Linked DNA regions of Homo sapiens: all the other regions are linked to region 1. Evidence: promoter capture Hi-C in 16 types of primary human blood cells and fetal thymus (Javierre and others, 2016). All regions are on one chromosome and are shown on one strand. Each heading gives the region's core, a stretch centred on a gene start or on the middle of the fragment in contact. The rest is flanking DNA. Distances are from core to core; before and after follow the strand shown. Region 1 holds the start of C3orf52 (chromosome 3 open reading frame 52). Region 2 overlaps ATG3 (autophagy related 3). Region 3 has its middle 17 kb from the start of BTLA. Region 4 holds the start of BTLA (B and T lymphocyte associated). Region 5 overlaps BTLA (B and T lymphocyte associated). Region 6 overlaps PLCXD2 (phosphatidylinositol specific phospholipase C X domain containing 2).

Region 1 (3,775 bases), core at 651-3,150:
CTTATATTCCTTCCACTGTAACATGAGAACAAGGGTTAGGCATATGGAATTATAGAAATGCATTTAAATCTAATTACAGAGTATATAAACCTTGCTTAACAGTACTCAAAAGGCATTAGAAGATGTGGTTTAGGGTGTGCTTGAGACAGGAACAGTTGCTTTTTGATTCTCTGGGGGAGTGAGGGAGGCTTTAGGTATCTGTGCATGGAGAAATCAGGCATGGAGATAGCTACTATCCATCTGAAGTGAGAAAAAAATCTCACATTTAGGATGAACTTCTGCAATCAAATAAGGGAACTATGAGAAAAGTTTTCTGGACCCTGGGTAAGGATGGGGGTGGGGAGAATCAGAAGTTTGAGAGGTGTCAGTGCTTCCAGTCAGGTCTGCATGTTTTCGTGACTACAGATCCTATCAAGACCTCCCTGCAAATTCCCACACCCTTCAATGGCTCTAGTTCTTTATCAGTCTCCAGTCCCTTTTAGGCCTAGGAGTGTTAACAGCTTCTCGCTATTGCTAGTCCCTGGGTACGTCACCATGCCTTGTTGATTCCCTTAACCCTTGCTCCTTGGTTAAAAAACCTGTTCAAAAATCCCAGCTGAGAATGCAGCCTGATTCTTGCAAGATCCACCTGTTGGAGCAGAAGTCAGTGCAGGTCAGCAGATGAGTCACTGCAGACTCCCCTTAGCAGGCAGATGGATCCAAAGTTCAGGGGATCTGGTAGCAGGCATCAGACTGCTGGAGACAGGATATCTAGGCTGTGTCTCAACATCAGGTACTGAAGATGCCAGACTTTTGGACTCAAGTCAACATATTTGGAGTGGAGCTGATTTATATGCTTCTTGTTAATGGTCTGGTCTTAATGTGTGTGTGTGTGTGTGTGTGTGTGTGTGTGTTGCGTGGAGGGTGAGAAGTAAGGAGCAAGACTATTCGGAACAGAAGCTTGAGAGTTGAGGCCCTTGGCCCAACCCATGCTGTGCTTAACAAACATAATTCCATGCTAACTAAACCGGAAGTTCTGAACTACAGATAGGGTGTCAAGGAGATTGTGTGTGCGCGTGCATTGTGTGTGTGTGTGTGTGTGTGTGTGTGTAAGGCCCCTCCTCTCAAAGATAAATAATAATGGTCATTTATGAGTGCTTGCTGTGTCAATCACTGTTCTGAGTGCTTTGCTTACAACAACCCTTGTAATCCTGGTAACAACTACATTTAGGAGGGTACAAATATTACACCAACTTTCCAGATGAGGACGTTGGCACAGAGAGATGAAGACCGAGGTCTCACAGTGAGGAACCCTCTGGGTGGAGAATAACCCAGGTACACTGGTTTTAGAGTCCGCTGTCCCCAGCACCACACAATACTGTCTCTGTGCCTGACTCTGGACTTGCGAGGAAGTGTGTTGGTGTATATTATTCACCTTCATGCACTCAGAACCTAGCACCATGCTGGCACGAGGCATGGTTATTTGTTGATTGAATGAATGCACTTTTGCTAGGCCGCGAGGACTGTGGCAAACCCCAACAACCAACAGTTCGTAGGGTTAGATCGCAAACTTTTCTCCGTTGGACGGTGCTGCCGGGCCCACCCTTTCCTTACCACAGCCCGGCACCCAGGCAGCCCCTAAACGGAGATGGTCTGCATCTGCAGGCGCGGGGAAAGGCATAGCAGGCAGCGCCCTGAACAAATCAGAAAAACAGCCTTCGGCTCTGGAGCCCACTCCGGCACGGCCTCAGGTGCTCTACCCCGCGGGATCCAGGGAGTGGCCGCCACTCACAGTTGCCCCTCCTGTCCGCTCCGGTCCGCTCCCGCCGCCCGAGGTCCGCGACGCCCCGCCCAGTGGGTGGAGTGTGAGGCGGGGAGGTCGCTCGACTCGCCGGCGCTGTGGCCTCCCGCGGAGCCGCTCAGACTTTCCCTGCCGGCACATGGACCTGGCCCAACCCTCACAGCCAGTAGACGAGCTGGAGCTCTCGGTGCTCGAGCGGCAGCCAGAAGAGAACACGCCTCTCAATGGTGCCGACAAGGTCTTCCCTTCTTTGGACGAGGAGGTCCCCCCGGCCGAGGTAAGGTCCCCTTGGCGCTGGCCCTAACTTGCCGGCGGCGGGACAGTAGTAGGACCCGGGCCTGGCACCCGCGAGTTTCGGGTTTCCAGTCAGGCGGGGCGTCGACGGCGCCGAGCGAGGGTGGGGCGCGCTCGAGTGCTCTGAATGGAGCCGAGTCACCGCGACACCTTTCGGCCCGAGCAGTCCCCTCCCCAGCCCCTGGGGTCCTCCAACCCCTCTGACCCCCGAGGCGCTTTAGGAATCCTAGTGGTGAGGTGTGGCCGCTGCTGTCTTCAGAGAGGTATTCCGGAGATGGAAGTAGTTTTTTAAAGTTATGTAACTTTTAATTCAGTTTTTCTTTTTTCCAGTAGGGAGAATGAGAATGACAAATTGAGTATCCTCCTTCTCTCAGAATCTCTTCTGTCCTCCTCTTACCTTCACTGCCTTGCCACTTCTCTCCCTCCCCTCCACCCACCTCGCCGCAGCCCCCAGCCTTCTTCCATGCCTACCATCCGCCAAGCACTTTCTGCCTTCTCCCAGCCTGGCCATTGGATTCTGCCGGAAGAGAGATAGGGGAGAGCACAGAGGAGAGAAAGCGGTCAGAAGGGGAGAAGGGGTAGGGCTGGCGTAGAGATGGGGCGGGCGGGTTAGGGGGTCGGCGCGGGGGAGGTGAACTTGCCCTGCTCAATTGAAAGAAAATAATTTCAAAGTTCTTGTCTCGAAGGTTGAGACTTCGCCCACCTTGCTTTTACCTCCTCTCAATCCCTAAGGAAGTCCCTGGCTATTTTTAGGCCAAGCTCTTTTCTGATTCATCCCTAGCAATGATGGGAACATTATTCACTCTCATCAAAGACTTGTAAAACATCAGAGCTTTGACTTCCCAGCCATCCACCTTCTGATTAACTCCTAAGATTGGCTTGAGGTTTTCTGGGTGCACAGAACTCCCCATATAGAGCCCCGACCTGATCTTTCTAGGCCCCACTCCTCCACCCCCAACTTTTTGGCTGCCCAGCTGTTGATTTTAGGGATAAGCAGGAAATTCAAAAGTTGAAAGCATTGCTTTTGTTCTACATTGATTCCTGGAACTATTGCAAAGTCTGCTTTTATAGGTACTCTGGAGAGTAATTTGGAAACTTATTTCTGAATAAAATATGAATGCCACAGAAGAATGAAGGTTGAACAAAGATAGTCTGGTCACCAGTGCAAGTGGCCACAACTGTGAACTGGCTGTATGAGTCCTCCAGGGCGGTGTCCAGGAATGGGAGTTGGAAATACTTGCCTCAGATTAGATGGACCCGCACACCCTAAAGACTCCCTAGCTTGGGGCTGAATCCAGAAATCTGGTGACAGTTTTGCCACTAAGAAGTGTGTCCCAGAGGCAAGCCTGTCCCGTAGTGGTAATGTGTGCCTACTCGGCCTTCTGTGAGGCCTGGGAATGCCTTGTTGAAAACAGGTGGTGGGTAGAACAAGCCAAATCCATGCAGGGTTATCAGTATTCTGTAATTGTTTAGCACCTACCCTGTAGCAATGGTTCTTTAATGTTCTCATGACGTCCTTGTTAGTAAGGTATATACAGATACCCTGGACTTCTTTGTAAGTTAGCTTTGTAGGTCACCCAATAGGAGAGCTGTCCTCAGTAACAGGATGGAGTGAAGGTGAAGGGCTACAGGAGTACTTGGAGTGTGTTCAAGGAATGCCTTGAACTAATCTCATCTAATGTGTTAATCATTCTCTTTTGT
Region 2 (3,775 bases), core at 943-3,442, 460 kb after region 1:
AACCTATCTACCTATATCTATACCTATACCTATGCAATAGTCCTCACTTATCTGTGGGGAATACATTCCAAGACCCCCAGAGGGTGTCTGAAAGCACAGATAGTACCAAACCCTACCTACGCTGTACATGACAGTCGACCTGATAATCGAGTTGGCTATTAAGTGACTAATGGCTGGGTAGCATATACAGCATGCATACACTAGACAATGGGATGATTCACCTCTTGGGCAGAACGGATCAGGATAGCAGATTTTATCATGCTACTCCCAACAGTGGGGACAAAAATTAAAACTGATGAATTATTTCTGGAATTTGGCACTTAATATTTTTGGACCATGGTTGACTACATAACTGAAACCACAGAAAGCAAAACCTACTCTGTATACATCCTATGGGTTGTTTCTCTAGAGAACCATGACTAATACACAAGCTAATAGAAGAAAACGCCCAGGAAAAGCAAGGATAAAGCAAGGGAAACTGAGTTGAAAAAGGAACCAGTATCTGGCCTCATAAGTCACTAACTTGACATCAAAAACAATGCACAATCAATGGATCCAGTCAGTCAACAGAGAATTTCCTACTGATGTGTTGCCAACATCTTCCAGGCATGGAAAAGTCAAAGCAGAAGAGTTAAAAGACTTTCACTACTCAGTGGGGCGGGGGGAAAGAAGGATGATTTTTGAAATTACTTTTAAAAGTTTTTCAATCTGTTATTTCCTTTAGGCTTTGATATAGCACTCGACTCATTAATAAGCCAATAAATTTCAGATCAAGGAGCCCAAGTCCTGAATCTTTGCCTATAACTCCATAAGGAAAGAGATGGCAGTATCCTTTATTCAGAGTAGGGGAGAAACTGACCTAAGAAGGAACTTTTACCTGGGCAGATACTTAGCCCTCTGTCTACTGCAGTGAGTCTCAACTGAAGGCAGCAATTTTTCCCCCAACAGAACATTCAGCAATTTCTGGAGGCATTTTTGGTTGTTAAAACTGAGGGATGCTACTGGTATCCAGTGGTTACAGGCCAGAGATACTGGTAAGCATTCTACAATGCACAGAAAATAATTATCCATTCCAAAAAACAGTGCCAAGGTTGAGAAACCCTGTTCTATTACTACTAAGGATATACCTCCTAATCTCTAGGACTCGAAGGGAGAAAAACATATTTAGTATCATGGACTTAAACTTAGAGCACATTTTCCATTCCAAAAAACAGTGCCAAGGTTGAGAAACCCTGTTTTATTACTACTACTAAGGATATAACTCCTAACCTCTAGGACTCAAAGGGAGAAAAATTTGTTTTTAGTATCATGGATTTAAACTTAGAGCACATTTTCTTCATCAAAACTAAGTAATAAATGGTAGTTAGCTTCAGCAGCATATGATAATATGCATGTACATAGTTATATAAATATAGTGGCAAAACAGTGTTTTAGGACTTAGAATAAAAAAGTATATTCAGGGTTTCAAATAACTCATAGAAACACTTATAAAAACCTTGCATTCAACTCATTTAACAAATATTTACTGAACAACTTCTACATCATACACTGTGATAGATACTGAGAATTCAACAATGAATCTTTACCTTCATGGAGCTTACAGTACTGAAAATTTCTTTTAGTCGTTATTTAACAAATAATTATTAAATACTTAATAGATGTCAGTTCTCTGGGTAAATGTGAATACAGTATAGTTCCTGTCATAGAGGAGCACATAATCCAGCAATGGAATGACAATGACATGTAAGCAAGAGACTGTAAAGCAAAGTAGTATGCATATTCAGCATCTCTGACGGTCTTTTTTTTCCCTCTCTGTATTTAGAAACTAAGAAAATAATATTTTCAAATTGCAATGGAAGTAGCAGGTATTATAGAAATTTGGCATACTCTGGCCGGGCGCAGTGGCTCATGCCTGTAATCCTAGCACTTTGGGAGGCCGAGGCAGCCAGATGACGAGGTCAAGAGATGGAGACCATCATGACCAACATGGTGAAACCCCATCTCTACTAAAAATACAAAAATTAGCTGGGCGTGGGGGTGCACACCTGTAGTCCCAGCTACTCGGGAGGCTGAGGCAGGAGAATCGCTTGAACCCGGGAGGTGGAGGTTGCAGTGAGCAAAGATCGCACTCCAGCCTGGTGACAGAGCAAGACTCTTGTCTCAAAAAAAGAAATAAATTTGGCATACTCTAAAGGCTTCTTTTTTAAAATTTGTCCTCCTGCTTTTTTCATGTAAGTCTATTGGGACAAAACTATGCCTTATGTATCCTCTTTTTTAAATCAAGGCTATTATAAAAGATTGTGAAAGAGTTTAATTTAAACTAAATATATGTCATTTTATTCTCCTCTTACCTGTGTTGTGATATGTATCTACCCATCCGCCATCACCATCATCTTCTTCAATGATAGCTTCCAATTCATCTGAATATTCCATCTGTTTGCACCGCTTATAGCACGGCACTATAAAAAAAATGGTAAATACAGTTAACTAGCACGTAATCTGCTAACCATAAATCCATTAGAAAGAAGAGAGCTTAGTCCATAAAATAGGGTGTTTATACCACCAAAGTACTAAGTGAATATTTCACTTTTAAAGGTGATTAAGAGTTACATTCAGCTCATAGACACATAATTATTTGGCTACATTTACCTTTTCCTAAATTGCTTTGTCAGAAGACAAGTAGAAAAGCTCTATTGGGAATGTTCTATGCATTCCTTTACCATGATGGTCTGTGAAGAACAGCAGGCTGATGTCAGAGATACATATCATAGTTCAATTTCAGTCTAATGAATAATAATACCTTATTTTAATGGCTTTACTTTCAGAACATGGAGCTACCAGCTATCATAGTCAGTGGTGGTAAAGGTGAACTCTTGTTTTCAAGGCTAAAGTAACTTTCAATATAAATTTTATAATTCATATTTAAGTTCCAGTTATTCACAATGGATAAAACAGTTTAAAATTCACCAACCTTCTGATTTTTACTTCTTTATACCACACTAGTAAGTTGTTCATACAGCAAATGTGTCAATTAACAGGTATTATTATTCATAAGCCTAAGATTGGGTAATTATATGGTAAAAGCATTATGGTATAAGGTCAACAAATTGCTTTTTAATCTCCTGATTTTTTTAAAACAATCAGGATATAAATTATCAGCCTTTGTAAAAAGAAATATGCTGTAGAAAAGAAAAAACTGCTGTTCTGTTCACTTTATTTTCCCTTTCCTATAATGAGTAAATTGGAACAGAAATCAATGTATTGTTTTGTGATTAGTTAGGAACTATAACAACCTTTTGATGTTGTTTTTAAATTTAACTTCATAAATAAAACACTACCTGTTTCAGCCAGGCGCGGTGGCTCACACCTGTAATCCCAGCACTTTGGGAGGCCAAGGTGGGCAGGTCACCTGAGGTCAGGAGGTCGAGACCAGCCTGACCAACATGGCAAAACCCTGTCTCTACTAAAAATACAAAAATTAGCCGGGCGTGGTGGCAGGCCTGTAATCCCAACTACTTGGGAGGCTGAGGCAGGAGAATCGCTTGAACCTGTGAGCCAAAATCAGGCCACTGCACTCTAGCCTGGGCAACAAAGTGAGACTCTGTCTCAAAACAACCAAAAAAAAAAAAAAAAAAACCACTACCTGTTTCAAAATATTTTTGTGTCCTTCAATGACACAACGGATAATAACATCGTCAGCTCTGAGCTTTTAGATGTCATAGGTAGTATGAATTTCATTTGCCATGCAAAATTTCAGTCTAAAGAAGATTAAAAT
Region 3 (3,775 bases), core at 857-3,356, 430 kb after region 1:
TTTACTTCAGAACTTAAGCCATGAGGCAAACACAAATTCACCTGCTTGCAAACAAACAGCTTGCTGAGTCCAAACAGTGCTTTGTATCTTAATAGAAAAATAACAGCAGATTTAAAGCTGGCAGAAAGGAAAATAGGGAAAAAAGAGAACTTAGGAACTCTATAGTTTGCAGGTTGACCTTAGTGCTCTTTTTCATTAACATATATATGCACAAATACCATATTACTTCCATTTCACATAAACTCTGGCAAGTGGAGGTGCCATAAAACCTATGGAGTGCTTGAAAGGGGATCATTCTCCTTGTTTTCTCCTCATTCTTAGATTATTATTTTCTCATTTTTTTTCTTAAAATAACTGAGCTGTGGCCTAGCGTTTTTGTGTGGTGATGTGTGCTGCTTGCACTCAAGACTCCACAGTGTGTTACCATTGAGTCATTTTCACCCTCTTAAGTGTTTCAGTTTCTCTCTCCAGAGGTCTATGACCTGTGAGAGGACTCAAAACGCCAGGTGACCAGCCCTTATATGCATTTCCTGGATGAGCCTTTTTAAAAAATAATTTTTGTTGGGTGTTTCCCTGTAGGGCTGCTGCACAGGGGTTCAACCCCCCTAACCCCTTGCCCAGATACACCCACAAGGCCTCTGGTCACTCAGCTGAGTCAAGTATGTACTACAGTTAATTTTGTGTAGTTTAATACTGCCTTTACATTTGTTTATATTTTTCTGAACTTCAAATTGCACCATGTATGGTGTGTGTTTGCTTGTGTCAGTTTTGATAAATAACTTTTTATATTTTGTTATATGTTATATGCTCATGACATAACTTTTTCTTAATTTTTTTGTTATCTCTAGGCTAAGTGGTTCATCTGAGTTTTTTCAAATCGTCACAAATCTCCAAAAAAAATTCCAATATATGTATTGAAAAAAATCCACATATAAGTCAACCTGCACATTTCAAACATTTCAAACCTGTGTTTTCAATGGTCAACTGCAATTTGGGTAAAGTGTATGGATTCCTGTAAATTCCTTTAAAATGCATTTTAAAAGATGAATTAAATGGATGGGTAAAGGTACAGATAGAAGGATAGTTATATTGTTACTATAGTAAAATGTTAATGGTAGAATCAAGATGGTGTGCATTAGTGTTTGCTGTAAAATGAATTCAAACTTTGTTGTATGTTGTAAATAAAATGTTGGGAGAAAAGATGCTTTCACTTGTAAGTGCAAATAAAAACTAATTTTATTTTTAAAAATGCTAAATAATACATTCTAATATTATTAGTGACAGTGTAGATATATAAGAACTCATGTTTTTTTAATTTTTGTGGTGAGTGTATAAATTAGTATAAACTATTTAGAAGATAGCTTAAAATTATTGTATATATTAAAATAGTAAAGTGGCTGCCAACTTTGTATTCTTACTTCCAAGAATTTACTCCATGGGAATTATCACACAAGTGTGCAAAGATGTAATCAAGACATAAGTCTTGATTATAACAGAAAAAATATAAGCAAATTAAATGACCTGTTAGATGATTAATTGAACATCCATACAACTAAATACTAGGTAAGCATTGTTAATCATAATATAGATCTATTAATATATTTCTTAAAGAAGACGGTCCCCTCATATTGTTTAGTGACGAGGATTACAGGAATACATAAATGGTACAATCCCAGTTTTGGTTAATGCATACATATCCATATACTCATTTACATATATTCATGAACATATACATCTATATATGTATTTAGACACAAAGGGCTCATTAAAAGAATATTCATCAAAATGTCAAAAATATTAGCTCCAAGAGATAATAATGAACCTGATTTTTTATTTTCTTCTTTGTACTTGTTTGCAATTTTTACAATGAACTCATAATCCTTTACAAAAGCACTAATTATTATTTGAGGTTGTGTAGGGGGGAGTAAGACAGAAGGAGAAGGAAATATAGTCCAATAATGAAATAAAATGAAGCAGCCTTTATGTGTTTGTATGGATTGATCTCCAAGATTTTTTATGTGATCATTATAGACTGAAGTGTGTTACACCAAATTTCATGCTGAACTTCTAATACCCAATACCTAATAATGTGACTATGTTTATAAATAGGGTCTTTAAAGAGGTAACTAAGTTAAAATGAAGTCAGTAATGTAGGCCCTTATCGAATATGATTTATGTCCTTGTAAGAAGAGGAATTTTGTACAGATATTGACACAGATTCTAACTTGACCAAACTTCAGTCAGGCTCCCTAACCTTCTCCTAGGCCCATCTGTGCACCTCCTTGTAAAATCTGCTTTATCCAAAAACTCATTTAGTAAGAACCCCTCTCCCCCAGTAGCTGATCAACCGTGACATCTGATCAAGTTCCTCATCCTCCACTATCCCACAGGTAATAAATCACCTTGTTCTGTTTTTAGCAAGAATCCTGTGAAGTTGGTTTAGCTGAAATCTTCCTCACCCCTGATGTTTCCTTTTAGTAATTTTCCATCCATTGACCCCCACCCTGCTCCTTGGCTATAAATTCCCACTTGCCCATGCTGTGTTTGGAATTAAGTCCAATCTTTCTCCCAGGCTGCAAAATCTCATTGTGGTGTTACCTATACCTATTGCAATGGTCCTGAATAAAGTCTTCTTCACTGTGCTTTAATAAGTATTATTATTATTATTATTTTTGCATTTCTCATTTTCTTTGTAACATATTAAGTGTGTTTGCTTTATGTTCTCTGTTTTACAATTTCAAGATCTGAACTTTAGTTTTTTATTTTATTTTACATTCCAGGGTACATAACCTGCAGGATGTGCAGGTTTGTTACATAAGTAAACACAGGTAAACATGTGCCATGGTGGTTTGCTGCACCTATTAACCCATCACCTAGGTATTAAGCTCAGTATACACTAACTACTTTTCTTGATGCTCTCCCTCCCCCAACCCCCACCGACAGGCCCCAGGGTGTGTTGTTCCCCTCCCTGTGTCCATGTGTTCTCACTGTTCACCTCCCACTTATAAGTGAGAACATGTGGCCTTTGGTTTTCTGTTCCTGTGTTAGTTTGCTGAGGATAATGGCTTCCAGATCCAACCATGTTCCTGCAAAGGACATGATCTTGTTCCTTTTTATGGCTGCATAGTATCCCATGATGTATATGTACCACATTTTCAATCTATCCATCTGACAAAGGTCTAATATCCAGAGTATACAAAGAACTTAAACAAATTTACAAGAAAAAAAAAACCCCATTAAAAAGTGGGCAAAGGACATGAACAGATACTTCTCAAAAGAAGTACAGCCAACAAACATATGAAAAAAAGCTCAACATCCCTGATCATTAGAGAAATGCAAATCAAAACCGCAATGAGATACCATCTCACACCAGTCAGAATGGTGATTACTAAAAAGTCAAAAAACAACAGATGCTGGTGAGGCTGTGGAGAAATAAGAACAGTTTTACACTGTTGGTAGGAATGTAAATTAGAACAACCATTATGGAAGACAGTGTGGTGATTTCTCAAGGACATAGAACCAGAAATACCATTTGACCCAGCAATTCCATTACTGGGTATATACCCAAAGGAATATAAATCATTCAATTATAAAGATACATGCACATATATGTTCATTGCAGCACTATTCACAAACAGCAAAGACATGGAATCAACCCAAATGCCCATCAACAAGCATTATAAAATAATTTTTTTCTTTAACAATATGCATACAGGAAGAACACCATGTGAACATGAAGACAACCACCTACAAGCCAAAGAGAGAGGCCTCAGAG
Region 4 (3,775 bases), core at 956-3,455, 410 kb after region 1:
ATATTATTGCATCTACAGTCTTCACAGCAGCCCCATAATTTAGGTACAATTATTACCTGTATTGTACAAATGAGGAAACTAAAGAGAAGAGAAGAGACTTAATCAATGCCATACAGTAAGTGGCAGAGCCAGTAAATTAACCCAGTTCTAACAGCCAAGTTCACTTTTGCAAATGCTAGGTTGCACATTGGGAGAAATAAAGGTCTTACCCCACCATCAATGTGGTTTAGCACTGAAACTCATTGTTCTTAATTTCATAGAGAGTAGTTTATGTATCCTTCAAATGGGGAAGAAATCTATTTAATAATATTTGACTCCAGTTGTAGCTATGTGACTGTAGGCATCTGATGGAAGGTGGAAAATTCAGTCAACCATCTAAGCACCTAGTTGACTTAATACTAGATACTTACAAACATAAAGATGTTTGAGTAACTAAGGACTTTTTTACTTTGCACTTGGTTGTGTGGCATCCTGGCATCATAGAGACATATTCCAAACTACACAGTTTAAAATTATAGATAGACTTTCCATAGAACCTCAGTGGCCAGATTTTCTAATTTAAAATTGCAGTAGCCAAACTGATAAATGTGTGCTTGTAGGGAATAATAAGACAGAATATTTAAAACCTGAAAAATCACTGGGCATGGTGGCTCATACCTGTAATCCTAGCACTTTGGGAGGCTGAGGCAGGTGGATCACTTGAGGTCAGGAGCTCCAGACCAGCCTGCCCAACATGCATTGCATCCATAGCTTGGCTGACTTTCTTAAAAAACAGGTTGATGGCAAGAAAAGAGAACTGAGTAGATGTTATAAATAGTTAAGTACAAATCTATCACTACTTCTTGCGAAAATGCTCAGGCTGCCACACTGATGATGAATAGATAGCTCGTTCTTCCCAAACTGAGTGCAGTAGAGTGTTGCAGTGCTCAGTTGGGTAGGACAGATGTTGGATAATTGGGGTTATCCAACATCTCTACTAAAAATACAAAAATTAGCTGTGCGTGGTGGAAGGTGCCTGTAATCCCAGCTACTAGGGACGCTGAGGCAGGAGAATAAATTGAACCCGGGAGGAAGAAGAATCGATTGAACCCGGGAGGCAGAGGATGCAGTGAGGCGGGATCACGCCATTGCACTCCAGCCTGGGTGACGAGAGCAAAACTCTTGTCTCAAAAAAATAAAAAAATAAAACCTGAAAAATCAGAAGCTTCTGATGAGCCACTCATAGGCTTTTCCTCTTGATAATATGTGGGTTCCTATGCAATATAAGGTAGGAAGCGACTTTACAATAAAAAAGAAATTGCCTTTTTTTTTTTTTTTTTTTTTTTGCCTGTATAAAGTCTTTGCAGGGGTGGCTAAATATCATCTTTGCAGAATCCAACTTATTTTCTGTGTTCAATTGACAACCAAGTAGGAACCATTCCCTTTCAACAAAATAGAAGCAATGACGAAAAGTTCTGCTCCTATATTTTGTAGCATTTTCTCAATCGGTATTCTCAAGGCATACATCCCAATGAAGCAAGTATAGAGATTTTATTTAGAGGTAATATTATTTGAGGGTAACCATGGAGATATGTATAATTCCGATTATCCAACAACTGTCCTACCCAACTGAGCACTGCAGCACTCTACTGCACTCAGTTTGGAAAGAACGAGCTATCTATTCATTATCAGTATGGCAGCCAGAGCATTTTTGCAAGAAGTAGTGATAGATTTGTACTTAACTATTTATAACATCTACTCAGTTCTCTTTTCCTACCATCAACATGTTTTTAAGAAAGTCAGCCAAGCTATTGATGCGATGCCTATGATTAGGCAGGTGAATACTATGTTCTAATTTGGTTTATGCTCTACGATGTCTTCGGTAAGCAAATGTAACAGCTTGGTTTCATCTACGATTACCCACTTCGTATAAACGTTACACCGTACTAAGTTCAGCAAGGGAGAATGTTGCCTCCAAGACCCCCTGAGAAATAAAACCAGAAATAACCTAAGCAGGTGCCTTACCATGGATGTTCCAGATGTCCAGATATGGGATTAAGAAGAAGACCCAAAATAATTTCCCAGTTCCAAGCATGGCAGGCAATGTCTTCATTTCCTGCACATATCAGTGATGGAAAAACTGCTCAAGTAGAAGGCTTTGCTTCGTCTTCTGAGTGCTGCAGAGTTGGGTCAGTTTACCTACCCCAGTGGCATCTGTGAAATAACTAAAAAAAAAAAAAAAAGAAGAGAGAGGTGGTAAGAGAGGAGAGTAGGAAGAGCCTGGATGATTTTGTGAAAAAAAGTGAACAGAAAGACGATGTGGTACTCTGTTCTGTGGTTTTTGCTTCTTGTCAGGTTGGCTGTTCACTTTCAAACACTGTGATCTGCAAAGCAGCTCAGTCCTTAACTTCTCCTTCCGCTCTACCACGTTTTTGCCCCAGGTTGAGGTTTTTCCTGCACTCAATGTTCAGTGAAATGAGCAATTAAACTTTAAAGAAATCTGTATTGTTGCAGTCTTTAAGTTGAGATTTTAATCAAATTAAGGTCAGGAAATTTATGGTAAAACTATCAATGGTAAGTATACATTTTCCCCTTTGTGATAGCTTGTGATTATGAAACTTCTTTTATGTAAAAGATTTTAGGTTTCTTTTTTTTCCTGTACATGTCACGGTAAGATGAGGATGCTTATTGTCATTAAACCAGTGAAGATTTATCTCAGGTTATGGAGAAAATGAGTGACAGGAAGCACTTCCTCAACAGAAGAAGGAAGAGCAGCCGTCTTTAATCTGTGGATACATATCAATGGAACAAGATCATCATTAATATTGGCTACATGTTCTCTCTAGATAATAAAGTTCTAATCTAAAGGAGATCTTGAATATCAATTAAAGGAAATTTCCATTTTAAACATTCTTCATGCAGTTGTTGTCTCGATGAAGTAGAATAGAAACAGTAAAGGAAGAAATGGAAAAGTTCAAGATCAGATAGCACAGGCCACCATAGGACTGTTTTCTCCACATCCACTTGTAATAATTAGCTTAGCTTATAGTCATAGGAGCTAATCAAATTCATCTGCCATTTGAGACTCCAAATGAGAGATCTAGATTTGTGGCATTAGTGATCATTGACAGAAGTCGATTATATAAGTTTTTTCCTCAGAGACTGATGATTTTATTCCAAGGCCAAACTTCAATAGTTTTAAGTTCAAGGAAAGTTTTAAGAGCAAGGAAAGTGTATAGATTGCTGGACATTTTGACCTGACATGGGAAACTGATGGGCAATACTTAATTCAGAGCTCCCAGTTGAGTTGCCAAGGGTAAATTAAAATTAAAAAACAGTTATCATGTATTTATTGAGTCAAATAGACAATGTGCTATGGTTGGAGATGAATGATGAATGAGTTGCTATTGCTGATTTTAAAGAACTCGTTCAATCAGTATTACGACTTCCTCACATCCACCTTTAGTGTTGGTCTTATAATATAGTATAATACAGAGAGGGTACACATAGCCTTTTAGAATTTCTGTTACTAATCAAATAAACATCCTGGGAAATATTAAGGCAGTATTTTCACAGCTCCTTCCTTTTCCTGTGTTCACAGTGAGTAAAAGCTTCTTGAGGCAGCTGAAGCAAGGCTCATTGTCCCTTTAAAATGGCCCACAGGTCAAAAGCCATAACCTTATGGCTTATGGGTTACATAAGCCCAAACCAGAGAGAGATCATATTAACTTTATCTCAGCTTAAAACTGTTATGTCACTATTTTAAATATTTTTCATATAAAAAGTCCATGCTAAT
Region 5 (3,775 bases), core at 466-2,965, 390 kb after region 1:
AGACAAAGAGTCCAATCATAGAATTAATTGGAATTATTTAGAAGGAAGATAATGATGGTGCGAGATGCTTATAGAAGCAATTGGAGGAAACACATCACAGAGTGGAATGTTGTGGAGAGACAAGAGTAGGAAGCCAAAGAAAATTCTCTGGGATTTTCCATGAGGATCAAGAGCATTAATTAACAAACTGATAAGGAAGGGAGTGATAGGAAGGATAGGTGAGTAGGAAACTAAGAGAGTAGAAATGTTCAAAAAGAAACTGACAAGGCCCTTCATGTCTCCTATTTAGCTCTTAGACTTTCTCTTTCACCACTTCATACTTCACATACTTTGTTCCATAAAACCCCCCAAGGCACAGGATTTAGGAGGGAATGTTATTCCCTTTCCCCTAAAGTTGGGTTCTTTCCTCCACAAAATAGATAGATTGTTGATCCTAATCTCAGCCCCAACTTGATCCCTAGAACAGGCACCTTTATGCACTTTACAAACTACAGATTATCTTTAGTCATCATGAATGACCCAAATATGGGATAGAGCAGAAATTGCAATGCTACTTTTGTGTAACAGACTTTTGTATCACAATTAATTATTAACTTCTGACCTTTCATCTGACCTTGGCTAAATTCATGTCTCGTATAGAAGTAGATTAGTTCCCATAAAGAAAGACTGAATTACACAAGGCTTCTCTTCCAAGGAAGGTGGACTCAATGCCTCAAAATTTAATTTTATTATACATTATGTTAATATATTATATAAATTAGTTAATAGCACTTATTTATTCAATAGTATATATCATTCTAGAATTAATATTTTGCAGATTTTCCTTATTTTTGTAATTTATTTTACCTGTTTAAAAAATAGTATTTGTTAAAAATTCAATATTTTGTCTCATTAATGTGAATTAATAATGCAATTCTTTCCAGAAAGTGTTCATTCCATACATCCTTAATATAGCCTTCTCCAGGTTGATGAAGACAATTTTTGTGCTTTGCATATACTATGTTCTTTAATTCATTTACAAAGAAATATTTAGTGAGCCCCTACCATGTGCCAGGTACCCTGCCATCCATCATACAGAGCAAAGATGTTTAAGACACAGCTTCCATCCTGAAGAGGTTTATAAGCCAGTGCATGGATGGTCACAAGTAACTAGCACCGAGCTTCACGCTATATTTGCAAAAGCAGAGTCCCTAACTCTGCCATCGATTTCTTCTATATTTCATAATTGAGGGTTGTAGCTACTGCTAAACTGCTATGCATTTTTTCATGGTGCTGCTGTAAGAAATTTTAAACTAACCTAAAGCATTTTAAAAGAATTTCAATGGATTCCTTCACTGGGCTACTTTAAGGGAGTTGAAAGACACTCAAAAGTAAGCATATAAAGTAACAAATTAATTTTAAAAAGATCAGTTGTAAAATGTATGCATTCAAGTGAATGATGTCCATAAAGGAACTAAACTGTACGAGGTTGCATCCAGAGTTCAGCCATGCTGCTATTGCAATAACCCTCTTTTGAAATTTCTCCTTCCCAGTAACTTTAAGGGTCAATTTATGAGCAACAAAAGAAACTCCACATTATTTCTTATAATTAAAGGGCACTCTTCTTTGATCCAAATATATTTTTATTGTGGTAAAATACATATAACATAAAAGTTACCAATTTAATCATTTAAAATGTACAATTAAATGGCATGTAAGATACTCACAATGTTTTGCAAACGTGACTACGATCTAGATTCAGAACATATTTATCACCCCAAAAGGAAGCCCTCTACCTATTTAGTAGTCATGTCACATTCTTTATTTCCTCAGCCCCTGGCAACCACCAAGCTACTTTCTGTCTCTATGGATTTGCCTATTTTGGATATTTCATATAATCAGAATCACATTGTATGTAACCTTTTTCTTCTTTTACTTAGCGTAATGCTTCTGAGGTTCATCAATGTTGTAGCATACATTAGTACTTCATTCCTTTTCATGACTGAATAATATTCCGTGTGTGGATAAACTACATTTCCTTTATCCATTCATCAGCTGAACATTTAGGTTGTTTCTACCTTTTGGCTATTGTGAATAGTGCTGTGATAAACATTCAGGAACAAGGTTTTGTGTGAACATATATTTTAATTTCATTTGAGTATTTACCTAGGAATAGAATTACTGGGTACTGTGACAAGTAGGTTTTATCTTTTGATTTTGAGGAACTGTTAGACCACTTTCTAAAGTGACTGCACCATTTTACATTCTCCTCAGCAATGGATAGGGTTTCTATTTCTTCACATCCTTGCTAACACTTATTATTTTCTGTGTTTTTTTTTTTTATTCTAGTCATTCGATGGGTGTGAAGTGGGTTTTCACTGTGACTTTGATTTGCATTTCTCCAGTAACTAATGACATTGAGCATTTTTTTCATATGTTTATTGGCCATTTGTATATTTTCTTTGATGAAATGTCTATTCAAGTCCTTTGCTCATTTTAAAATTAGGTTGCCAGTCTATTTGTTGTTGAATTTTAGTATCTTTTGATGCACAGAAGTGTTTAATTTTTATGAAGTCCAATTTATCTATTTTTGGTGTTATTGTTGATTATGCTTTTGTAATCATAGCTAAGAAAACACTGCTAAATCCAAGATCAGAAACATTTATCCCTATGTTTTCTCCTAAGAAATCAGAGTTTTATTGTTTTATATAATGCAGTTTTTATAGTTTTAGCTCTTCTACTTAAATGTCTGACTTATTTTGATTGCTTAAAATATGGAGTGAGATGAGGGTTCAAATTAATTCTTTTACATATGAATATCCAATTATCCTGGCACCATTTATTGAGACTATTCTTTCCCCACTGAATAATCTTGGTACCCTTATCAAAAATCAATTGACTACGGATGTATGGAGTTTATTCTGGACTCTCAATTCTATTTACATTGATCTCTTTGTCTATCCATGACAATACTATTCTTTTTTTTTTTTTTTAACTGTCATTTTGTAGTAAGTTTTGAAATAGGGAAGTCTTAGCTTCAGTTTTGTTCTTTTTCAAGATTGTTTTGGCAATTCTGGGTCTGTTGCAACTCAATGTGAATTTTAGGATCAGCTTTTTTATTTCTGCAATAGCAACAAAAAGCTGTTAGGATTTTAGTGGAACTGCATTGAATCTGTAGATCACCTTGGGGAATATTGCTATCTTTACAATATTACATCTTTCAGTCCATGAATACAGAATGTCTTTGCATTTATTTACATATTCTTGAATTTCTTTCAGCCATGCTTTCTTTGTTCAGTGTACAACTCTTATACCTCTTTGGTTAAATTTGTACTTAAATATTTTATTCATTTTGATGCTATTGTAAATGGAACTGTTTCCTTAATTTTCTTTGTGGATTGTTTATTGCTAGTGTATAGAAATATCACTGATTTTTGTGTGTTGATCCTGTATCATGTGGAATTGCTAAATTCATGTATTAGCTTTAATAGTTTTAAACAAATTTTTAAGAATTTTTCTACACATAAGTTCATGCCATCTGTGAATAAAGTTTTACTTCTTTTTTTCTAAGTTAGATATCTTTTATTTCTTGTTCTTGCCTGTTTGCTCTGGCTAGAATTTTCAGTTTAATGTTAAATGGAAATGGCAAAAGCAAGGATCCATGTCTTGTTCCTGTTCTTAGGGGGAAAGCTCTAAGCCTTTCACCATTGAATATGATGTTGGCTATAAAATTTTTATAAACCAAGTATTTTTTACTCTTACCTACTCCCCCCCTATGTATTTTTTCATGTTTTAT
Region 6 (3,775 bases), core at 774-3,273, 390 kb before region 1:
TTTTTTTGATGGGTTGGGAAGACATTACTGTTTTTTCCATTTCAAATAATGGATTATATAGGCTTCTACTCTCAAAAAATCTGTCATTCAACATCTTTTTGGCAACAGGTTGGATTTGTTTTTCCATAAAAATCACTTGATGACATCTAATTTTATGTTGTTAAAAATAAAAAGTTTAAGAACATCCTCAGAATTTTCTGTCTTATACTTGCAAATTGTGTAGTCACTGTATTTATTTCCAAGTACTGACATAGGAGCAGACTAGAGATATTAATAATTTATAATTTTAGTTTTAGTGCCAATTTGAATTTCAACTGTAGAATACTATGATCCAAACTTACTCCTTTTGATGTTGATTTTGGGTGTAACCTAAAATAAATGACTTAAACTACAGACTTCATTTTTCCTAGCCCTAAATGTTAATTGCCATGACAGATCCTCAAATATAAATATTTACTGAGGTTTCATGGCTTTATTTAAAAACCAGAATTATTTGTTTCTCAGATAGTATCATCCAAATAAAAGATGACACAAATTTCTTAATAATTAATAATAATAACATGTTTGAGCTCATTCTATTAGCCAAGGACTCTTCTGGGTGTTTGCCTGAGTTAACTCATTTAGTCTTCACAACAGACCAATGAAGTTAGTACTGCTGTTGTCCACATTGTGCAGATGAGGAAACTGAGGCCCAGCATTTTATTCACATAACTAGTAGGCAGTAGAGCCAGGATTATGAACTCAGGCAGCCTGACAACAGACTCTGTGCCCCTATCCACTGCGGGGACACTCCATTTAGCTTATTCAGAGCTATGGTAATTCACTAAGTTAGGTGTTAGGACTCACCATTTGTGAAGTTCTTTCTTAACTAGTATCTTACAAAGTGCAAGTCTGAGTCCTTTGGGACTGTGTAGACAGAAAAATGATTTGTTGGTAGTCCTGGAAATTGCAAGTGAGAATACTTAAAAAGATTACTGGAAAAGAAGAAATTCAGTGGTTCCCAACCCATTAGTGTTCTAGAGACAGGGGATGGGAATAGAACCTTCCAGTACTGGGTCACCTTATGGATGGGAGGGAAACATTGCTGGAGGCATTGAGAGGCAGGCCAATTAAGGATAAAAAGAGACAGTGTCAGAGGTTCAGCCCAGACAAGCCAGGAACCTCAGTCTAGGGTGGTGGTCTGTCTCAGCCTTTTGTTCATAATCACTCCCTGAAGGAGTCTTATTAGGCATTTCTATTCCTTATTTCCCCCCCTCCTCCCCTGTGAAATTATAACACTCAGATGTATCTGTACTTTGTACATAGAAGAATAAGATTTTTCACTCCCTAAGAACAAATTTTTGCAATGTCAGTGCCTAAAGGCACAGATACACTGAATGGTGTCAATACACATGGGGTGGGGAGAGTGGGATCAGTGAAGCACCTGCAGGAACTAATGGGCTTCAAAGTTAGAAGGACTTAGAGACAGGAGGACCTAAGGGAGGTGAAGACAGGAGGTTTTCTTAAATATGTGAAGTCAGGAGTTCTTTGACTTAGGGTCACCATCCTCACCTACCCAGATGGGGAGTTTCTCTCTATCTTCTTATAAGCTTCACTTAACTCTTGTCTCAATCTTCCCTCCATGGCTACAAGTGTGGTCATCATGTAATCTGAAATGCCATTGTACTGTAATGAAATGTATCATTTCATAGTGTGTGTTTTGAATTCTTTTTGTTTTATTTATAAACCAGGTTCCCAAGAAGCCTGCTTTAAATTCTTTTTATTTGAGCTCAGAAAATGGCAGCTACTCCAATTTGCAAGAAATGGGTAATGAAAGTGCTTTAAAAACTAGAATGCACTCATTTGAGATCTCTAATCCCCAAATGGCAACCCTCAGGAAGAATCAAGCAGTAATTTGTGTTCCAGATAAAGAGCAAACTGATTGTGCCTGGTCTTCACAAGGCCAGCTAGCTCATTTTCTCATACCTTACCTCTCAAATAATCTAACACTACCTAGGAGGCAATAACTATAACACTGAGTAAAAATCTTGCTAACCTTTTCGCATTCAAATCTCTCTCTTCCCGTGTGACTTTGCTGCCACAGGGACTTGATTCTGAGCTCTGTAACCTAGCGCACATCCCAAGGATCCTAGTAAACCTTAAGTAACCTAATCTAATCACATACTAGGAGGCATGATAAGGAAACCAAGGCCTCCCAATATTTTTCTTCTTCACAAACAAGCTGTGGTTATTTAATTGGTTAAAGGGCAGGGTGTATCTTAGAACAAAAGGAGTGATGAAGAAAGCATCTACCAATACATGGGAAAGGCACTTCACCAGATTATTATTTGAAGGTTTGAAAGTACTAGAAGTCCAGCCAGAGAAGACCATGCCCAGAAATCAGAGAACTTTTGGGAAACTATAATCTTACATTTGTGGCTGTAAGTATCAAGCCTGGGTATACATTAGAATCAGCAAGAAGCTTGTCAGCTTCCGTCCCAGAGAGATTTTGACTTAGAAGGTTTGGGGTGAGCTCATGGGCACTGGTGTTTTTTAAAAGCGCCCCCTGCTCTGCCACCTCCCAGTGATTCTGATATGCATCTAAGGTTGAGGATCACCACTTTACATTATAAAGTGCTTTCACATACATGATTCAGGATTTTTGTATGCACACAGAAAGGAAAAAGAAACACCGTTAATGACTGTTGACTGTAAAAGAAAATAGGAAGAAACAGGGGTAGTAATTGTGAAAATGAAAGGATTAGAGAAAAGTCAATTTCTAGAAACTGGAGGAAAAAAACTTCACCTTTCTAAGGGCTAAAATTAGTCCTATGCATATAGAACATTAAGGAGGGACTTGTATGTCCATATTTACTGCTATATATGGAATAGTTTTTAGATGACCATAAAATTCTCAGCACAGAGAAGTCTGAAAACAGTCATTTAGTATTTGATGCCAATTACTTCCTAAGATCATATTGCTTCTCCTCTATAAATGAAATATATTGGAGAAGAGGAAAAAAAAAATTTGTTGTTAGTAAAAAGGTGTGTTAGAAAATGTCATATTAATATTCGTATGTGTATTTCAGGACTGTATAGACAGACAATATACCTCAGCAGGCTCTTAACAGCTTTCAGATAGTTATAATTAATAATTCTGCAGGTGAAAACTGGCAAGTGGATGATCTTGGATATAACTGAAGGATGAAGTAAAGCCAATGCTGTGGGCTCTCAGACTGTGTAGGGCGGGGCGGGGGGTCAGGGGCAGAATATAAAAGTCAGGTTGCAGCGTGGCAGAAGTAAAGAAACTTGTGATCAAAAAGTCAGAAATTAAATTTTAAGATTTTCAATGTGGGTGATGACAAACTTAGACTGTGACCAAAACAGTGGTGGTGGCTATAGTCAACAGAGTGGAGGCTAAGTTTTCATCTCCATGTCAGCTAATAAGATAGAGAGGAACAATGAATCAGGTACAGAAAATAAAATCTTCTAGACCATCAGTATTTAAGGCAAGAAGCTTCAGTTAATCAGCCCTTCACACTCTGATTTCTGACTAATTAAAAATGGCTAATAATAGCAATAATTACAGTTCAGCACTTACTAAGTGTCAGTATTGTTCAAAGCACTTTGCTTACATTTCAATATTCACAATAATTTTGTGACAATAGGTACTATTGGCCCATTTGACAGATGAGGAAACTGAGACATGGAAAAAGCAACTTACTCAATATGGGTTACAAATGCTGGGGAGAAAATATAGACATATTTGGGGTGAGAAAATATTTTACAGAGTATC

Evidence for each region. The method cuts DNA at HindIII sites, captures the fragments that hold promoters and counts their contacts. A CHiCAGO score of 5 or more calls a contact.
Region 2: a fragment that was not itself captured here is called in contact with the fragment with the promoter of C3orf52 in region 1 in 2 of 17 cell types (non-activated CD4 T cells and total CD4 T cells); the score reaches 6.0 in non-activated CD4 T cells.
Region 3: a fragment that was not itself captured here is called in contact with the fragment with the promoter of C3orf52 in region 1 in 4 of 17 cell types (total CD4 T cells, naive CD8 T cells, naive CD4 T cells and 1 more); the score reaches 6.2 in total CD4 T cells.
Region 4: a contact is called between the fragment with the promoter of BTLA here and the fragment with the promoter of C3orf52 in region 1, in 2 of 17 cell types (non-activated CD4 T cells and naive CD4 T cells). The highest score is 6.4, in non-activated CD4 T cells.
Region 5: a fragment that was not itself captured here is called in contact with the fragment with the promoter of C3orf52 in region 1 in 2 of 17 cell types (non-activated CD4 T cells and M2 macrophages); the score reaches 6.0 in non-activated CD4 T cells.
Region 6: a contact is called between a fragment that was not itself captured here and the fragment with the promoter of C3orf52 in region 1, in 1 of 17 cell types (endothelial precursors). The highest score is 7.7, in endothelial precursors.

The regions. Positions count from the first base shown.
Region 1 is chr3:112,084,489-112,088,263 of GRCh38, forward strand. It overlaps C3orf52 (chromosome 3 open reading frame 52), which reads left to right and starts at 1,901. Exons shown (of 6, transcript NM_024616.3): 1 at 1,901-2,057. The coding sequence starts at 1,920. RefSeq lists an enhancer at 1,563-2,079 and silencers at 1,596-1,645, 1,696-1,745, 1,766-1,815. The HindIII fragment of the contact is 3,182 bases long and covers 938-3,775 here.
Region 2 is chr3:112,546,182-112,549,956 of GRCh38, forward strand. It overlaps ATG3 (autophagy related 3), which reads right to left. Exons shown (of 12, transcript NM_022488.5): 5 at 2,352-2,459. Among named protein-coding and RNA genes, the nearest start is that of ATG3, 14 kb to the right of the region's middle. The HindIII fragment of the contact is 5,639 bases long and covers 1-3,775 here.
Region 3 is chr3:112,514,293-112,518,067 of GRCh38, forward strand. No RefSeq gene overlaps it. Among named protein-coding and RNA genes, the nearest start is that of BTLA, 17 kb to the left of the region's middle. The HindIII fragment of the contact is 7,313 bases long and covers 1-3,775 here.
Region 4 is chr3:112,497,267-112,501,041 of GRCh38, forward strand. BTLA (B and T lymphocyte associated) reads right to left here and starts at 2,206. Exons shown (of 5, transcript NM_181780.4): 1 at 2,005-2,206. The coding sequence starts at 2,092. RefSeq lists enhancers at 670-789, 1,658-1,707, 1,798-1,927. The HindIII fragment of the contact is 2,386 bases long and covers 1,203-3,588 here.
Region 5 is chr3:112,475,049-112,478,823 of GRCh38, forward strand. The region is part of intron 2 of BTLA (B and T lymphocyte associated); the gene reads right to left. Among named protein-coding and RNA genes, the nearest start is that of BTLA, 23 kb to the right of the region's middle. The HindIII fragment of the contact is 4,154 bases long and covers 1-3,775 here.
Region 6 is chr3:111,697,615-111,701,389 of GRCh38, forward strand. All of the region lies in intron 1 of PLCXD2 (phosphatidylinositol specific phospholipase C X domain containing 2), which reads left to right. Among named protein-coding and RNA genes, the nearest start is that of PLCXD2-AS1, 22 kb to the left of the region's middle. The HindIII fragment of the contact is 872 bases long and covers 1,588-2,459 here.